2 separate regions of the Homo sapiens genome follow, and region 1 is linked to region 2. The links are contacts of gene promoters, found by promoter capture Hi-C in human tissues and cell types (Jung and others, 2019). All regions are on one chromosome and are shown on one strand. The core of a region is centred on a gene start or on the middle of the fragment in contact, and the rest is flanking DNA. Distances in the headings are between cores, read along the strand shown. Region 1 overlaps KDM4B (lysine demethylase 4B). Region 2 holds the start of HSD11B1L (hydroxysteroid 11-beta dehydrogenase 1 like).

Region 1 (2,700 bases), core at 10-2,509, 630 kb before region 2:
ATATCTGAAGAGACTGAGCGCCTCAAAATCTCTTTGGCAATGCGGATTGAAACCAGAGCCAGCACCTGCAACTTCCCCCCGCCAACTTCCCGCAGCCCCTTCTGTCACCCAGGCCGGGGGGGCCGGAGTGCAGGTGGGTGTGGGGAGGGTCCGAGCTTTCCACTTGACCCTGTATTCCAGGGTCTTCCTGGGTGGGGTGGTGGCCTGGGGTCGGTGTCCTGAAGGCTGTGCCCCATAGAAGCCACTGTCCCAGGCCACACTCCTTGCCATAGATCAAGACTCTCCTGGGGCCAGGCGCGGTGGTTTGCGCCTGTAATCCCAGCACTTTGGGAGGCTGAGGCGGTTGGATCATGAGGTCAGGAAATCGAGACCATCTTGGCTAACACGGTGAAACCCCGTCTCTACTAAAAATACAAAAAATGAGCCGGGTGTGGTGGCAGGTGCCTATAATCCCAGCTACTCGGGAGGCTGAGGCAGGAGAATGGTGTGAACCCAGGAGGCGGAGCTTGCAGTGAGCGGAGATCACACCCCTGCACTCCAGCCTGGGCGACAGAGTGAGACTCCGTCTCAAAATAAATAAAAAATAAATAAATAAAAAGACCCTCCTGGAACCTGGGGTGGGGGTGGTTTAGCCGAGCTGACCCTCCAAGGCCGGTCCTGCGGCTGTTCCCCTCCAGGCATCCCCTCCCCAACCTGCACCTGTGGCAGCCCCTGCAGGGCCCACCCTCCTGAGCCGCCCGGGCCAGGCACGAAACACAGGCGTCGCCACGAGGCTGAGCGCAGTGTCGCCAGCAGCATCACATGCCACATGCCCCTAGAAGAGAGTTCCAGGCCGGGGTGGGAGGATGTTGGGTCTCGGCCAGCCCTGAGAGAGTTGCTGGTCCCAGGGCACTTCTGGGTCATTCGGATTGTGCTGTGCACCCCAAAGAAGAGAGTGGAGTGGCCATCCCCCCTCGAGGGCCCTGGCCCACGCTGCCTGGGAAAGTGCCCACTGTTCAGTCCTGTGCACCCATGTGCCGGGCTGGGACCTGGCCGAGGCTTCGGGTCCCCTTTTGCCCCCAACCCATCAGACACCCTGCAGGGCAGTGTTGGGGTGTTTAGGGGACTGTGGGCCACCGCCAAGAGCAGAAGCTTTGGCTCTCACTGCAGCAGGGAAGCCAGATGGGGGATCAGCATGTTCCTGGGGCTGCAGGGACTCCCGAGGACGTCGTGAGCTGATGGGACATGGTCAGCTGCTTGCACTGGCTCCAAGGCGGCGAGAGGAAGGCCCTCCTGAGGAGTGCCGCGGGGCCAGCGCAGGTGCGTGGCAGCCACAGAGGCCTCTGCTCAGGCTTAGGGAAGGGGGTGTCCCCCAGGGTCTCTGCAGCTCCGCTTGTCAGAAGGGGGGTCATCCTGCACCCAGGTGAAGCCCCCAAGAGCAGCGGGGCGAAGGAGCGCTTGCCCGGACTGCGACCTTGACCTGCCCATGACCCGCGGCAGTCTGGAAATCCCCCATTGCCCCAGGCAGGATGGGGGTCCCCCATGGTCTCATCTCTGGCTGTTTCCTCAGGGGATCGCTCCGCCCACCCTCTCCTGCCTCTGTTTACCTTGGACACACTCAGTCTCCGGTGCAGGTGTGGGAGGTGGGGGTCTCGGAGCTTGTGCTCCCGTGAAGGGCACGGAGCCCCCAGTTGCTCTTGGCCATCCTGGGCTGCTATGAGCCAGACCCTCCTGAGTGCTGCGGGGAGGGCTGCTGGGGAGGCCAGGGGAGAGGGGATTATCAGAAGACTCCACCAGCCTCCCTTGACCTTTAAGGAGCTGCAAGCCGAGAATTTTCCCTTTTGATTCAGCTACACCTTGAGTTTTCTCTCTGGCGTTTTCCCTCATGGGAATTTCACAGCATCTTTTCTTCTTGCTGCCAGGGAAACTTGAGTCCTAGCAGGCATAGCCGTCTTTTGCTTCATGGGTGTCCCTGGAGGTGTGCGTGCATGTGTGTGTGTGCATGGGCGCATGTGTGCACCGAGGAACCGTGCTCCAGACACTGGGGGTGGGGGTGGGGAGGGTGGGGGTGGGGAGGGTGGGTTCCAGGGCTGCAGGGGACCAGCCCGGGCTTCCTGCCCTGTGGCCGCAGGTGGGTGGAAGGCAGAGCCTGGGGTGGATGAGTCTGTCGCCCACCCAGGCCAAGCCAGGCTGTTCTTGGGGTGGAGGCTGCGGGCCTGCTCCCTTACCCCTCTGCTGCCCGCCTAACTGCCCCTCAGGACCTCCCTGGCCCACCCGCCTCCCAGCTCCATCTCCTGCTGGCAGCTCCTGCCTGGGGGCAGACACCTCCCTCCCTCCTGGGCTCCCTCAGTCTGGCTGCAGGTGGCACTGTCGGGCCCCACAATGGCCTCTGCCCTGTCCCTTGGAGTGGGACCCAGGAGTCTGGTGGGTGATGGAGCTGGCGAGCCCGTCCCAGGCAGCAGCCTGAAGGCCCATGGGGTAGCGCGCTGGCGCCCGGGGACCCTGGTGTGGGTTTGTACTGCTGCTGCTGGCGAGCCAACCACTGGGACTTCCAGCTTCTGAGCCCGGGACCCGGGGGGTCCCACCAGCAGTGGGGACCTAGGGTCCCAGTCTACTGACCGTAAGGCATGGCCCCCCTCAGTGACCTGGGGCATTCCTCCCAGCCGCTTTGCTCTGGCTGGGCCACCAGAGGTTGGGTGGCCGCAGAGACAGCTCTGGCGG
Region 2 (2,700 bases), core at 78-2,577:
CAGCAGCTCCTGGTCGTACACCAGGTAGACGGCGCCCCCAGCCACACTTCCCTTGATGAGGAACCTGCGGGCAGGGACGGGAGGAGCAGAAGCTCAGCGGACACTGACAGCCACCCTCAGGGGCCAAGGCCCACGGGGAGAGTGAGACCCTCCTGAGGGCTCACCGTCCACAGGGTGACACTCTGTAGTGCAGCACCGTCGACCCAGACCCCTATTATATACAGCACTCGTTTTACAACGTGCAAGGCAGGGCGGCTGGACGCCACTTGAACTGATGAACTGAAACCCAGAGGGGGAGAGTGGGTCACTCAAAGTCCCACAGTGAGCAGGGGCAGTGAAGACGTAAGATCTTGACCTTCTAGAAGCCTTCCAGCCCTGGAGAAACCAAGTGTCCCTGGGCGCCTCCTGCCCGCTGTCACTCGCAGCTCCGAGCACGCATTCACTTCTCATCCACGCCAGCGGCAGGATTCACCGGCATTCCCACCTCACAGAGAAGACAACTGAGGCTCGGAGGCGGAGGCTGACACCGCGAACTGAACGCCAAGGGCTCGCTGGGAAGCAGGAGGGAGGGGATTGGCGACCTCGGGAAGCCCCGCCCCTCTGAAGCCTCAGTTTCCCTATCTGGCCCATAGGCGGGGAACGAAGGGGAAGTGACTCTAAGGGAAGCGAAGAGCAGATCGGGACCAGACTGGAGACAGGGATGCCCACAAAAATGGACTTTTTCGGGGACTCGGGTCCCCTCCGGCGCCCCCACGCACCTCATCAGCGACCACACCCGGGCCACCATGGTCGCTCGGATCCACGCGCAAGGACACTCGGCTCGCCCGCCGCTTCCTGTCGCGGCGCCGCAGAGGCCTCTGGAAGGTGTAGTCTTTCTTGCCCGACGCAAGGTCCTCTGGGAGTCGTGGTGTCTTGCGGCTCTGAGACTCCAGAGAAGGGCTGCGGTCTCGCAGCGGAGGGCCGCTGGGAAATGGACGCTTTAAGGCCCGGGCCGCCGCAAGGCTGTCTGGGAAATGTAGTCAGCACGGCGCTGTTTGCACCTGGCCGCGGAGCCTCCTGGGAAATGTAGTTCGGCCCGGCCCTGGCACCGTGAGGGGAAAGAGGCGTCAGGTGCCTGGCTGAAGCCTGAAGGTGACCCGAAAACAAGTCAGAGCCCGAGAGATCCACCCGCGCCCGCGCGGGGGACCAAGGGCCCGGATTTAAGAAGAGTGTGCCTACAAGGCGGTTGTCACGGCAACGAGAGGGCGGGATTGTTCGAGCGCTGCGGCCCCCTCACGTGATCGATTCGGAGGCGGGGCGTCCGCCCAGTGGGCGGGGCCGGGCCCCTGCTGGGAGGCGAAGACCAGGCGGGCACTGTTGCCCGGCGACGCTCCGGCGCTGGGTCCCCGAGGCCCGGCCCCTCCCCGGGAGGAGGTGGGCTTCGAGTCACGTGACCCGTGCCCTACGGGAGGGGGTGCGGTCGGGGACCCGGCAGGAGGCGGCCGAGAAGAGAGGACCGTGGGGGCGTTCGCGTGGCTCCCAGCCCGGGACCCCACCCCCGCTGGACAGTGGGGGAAACTGAGGCCTGAGCGGGTGAGTGCACGGTTTAGGGGTGCGCAGAGGGTCACACGCCCGCTTTGTTCAGAGGGGAAGCTAAGGCCCGCCGAGGTCAAGAAGGGGCCGATGCGTTCTGCAGGGCTTCCCCCCATTTCTCCCGCATTTCGGCCGGGCTGCTTCAACCGTTCATCTGCCCATCCATCCATCTGTCCCCCACCCGTCTATCCATCTGGCCATCCACCCATCTATCCTTCCATCTATCCATCCACACTTCCGTTCATCCATCTGTCCGCCCATCCATTCATCCATCTGCTCCCCCCATCCTTCCACTCATCCATCTGTCCACCCATCCATCTATTTATCTGGCCACCCACTCATCTATCCGTCCATCCATCCATCCATCCATCCATCCATCCATGCATCCGTCCGTCCATCCATCCATCCATCCATCCATCCATTTATGTGTTCCCATTTATCCATTCATACATCCATCCACTCATCCATCTATCCACCCATACATCTCTCCGTCCATCATCCATCCATCCACCCATCCATCTATTCATCTGGCCATCCACCCATCCATCCTTCTATCTATGCATCCATACATGCATCTGTCCATCTATCCATTCATCCATCCACCCATCCGTCCACCCGTCAGTCCATCTGGTCCCACTTCCCCCTGCCGGGCTGCTGCAGTCAGTGTAGAGCTGGGGGTGGAAAGAGGGATGAGCAGAGGAGCTTCATGGGCTGTCCCTGGAAGGGGAAAAGGTGGAAGCTCGTTTCTTGCTGTGGGCATGCCTGGTGTGTCTGGGAAAGGTGAGGAGTTCATTATTTTGAGAACTGAACGATTCATAGATGGGGCCGTGGGAGAGAAGGATAGACAGGTAGTCAGGGGCTATACCTGCAGGGCCTCATGGGGTGCAGTGAGGAGCCTGGTTTCCATCAGTTGCAGTGGGGACCCCTGAGAGGGTTTGGAGCAGGAAGGGCCATGGCCATGTTGCTTTTGACACAGACGCCTTTGGCTGCATTGACAGAAGAGGCAGGGAGAGAATGAGTATGGACATGGGGAAGCCAGTGTGGAGGTGGGGGAGACCAAATCGGAGATGGAAGGGAGGCCAAAGGAAAGATGGGGGTGGTCAGGCCCGGGGTAGGGTCTAGGAGGGA

Evidence for each region. Contacts are between HindIII fragments. The study calls those that stand out against the background at their distance.
Region 1: a contact is called between a fragment that was not itself captured here and the fragment with the promoter of HSD11B1L in region 2, in 1 of the 25 tissues and cell types used here (dorsolateral prefrontal cortex).

The regions. Positions count from the first base shown.
Region 1 is chr19:5,050,331-5,053,030 of GRCh38, forward strand. The region is part of intron 6 of KDM4B (lysine demethylase 4B); the gene reads left to right. Among named protein-coding and RNA genes, the nearest start is that of KDM4B, 83 kb to the left of the region's middle. RefSeq lists an enhancer at 1,674-2,173. The HindIII fragment of the contact is 6,767 bases long and covers 1-2,700 here.
Region 2 is chr19:5,679,700-5,682,399 of GRCh38, forward strand. It overlaps HSD11B1L (hydroxysteroid 11-beta dehydrogenase 1 like), which reads left to right and starts at 1,328. Exons shown (of 8, transcript NM_198706.3): 1 at 1,328-1,572. MICOS13 (mitochondrial contact site and cristae organizing system subunit 13) reads right to left here and starts at 817. Exons shown (of 4, transcript NM_205767.3): 1 at 759-817; 2 at 1-64. The coding sequence starts at 787. RefSeq lists enhancers at 1-45, 426-535, 566-645, 666-765, 776-1,245 and a silencer at 1,296-1,505. The HindIII fragment of the contact is 40,206 bases long and covers 1-2,700 here.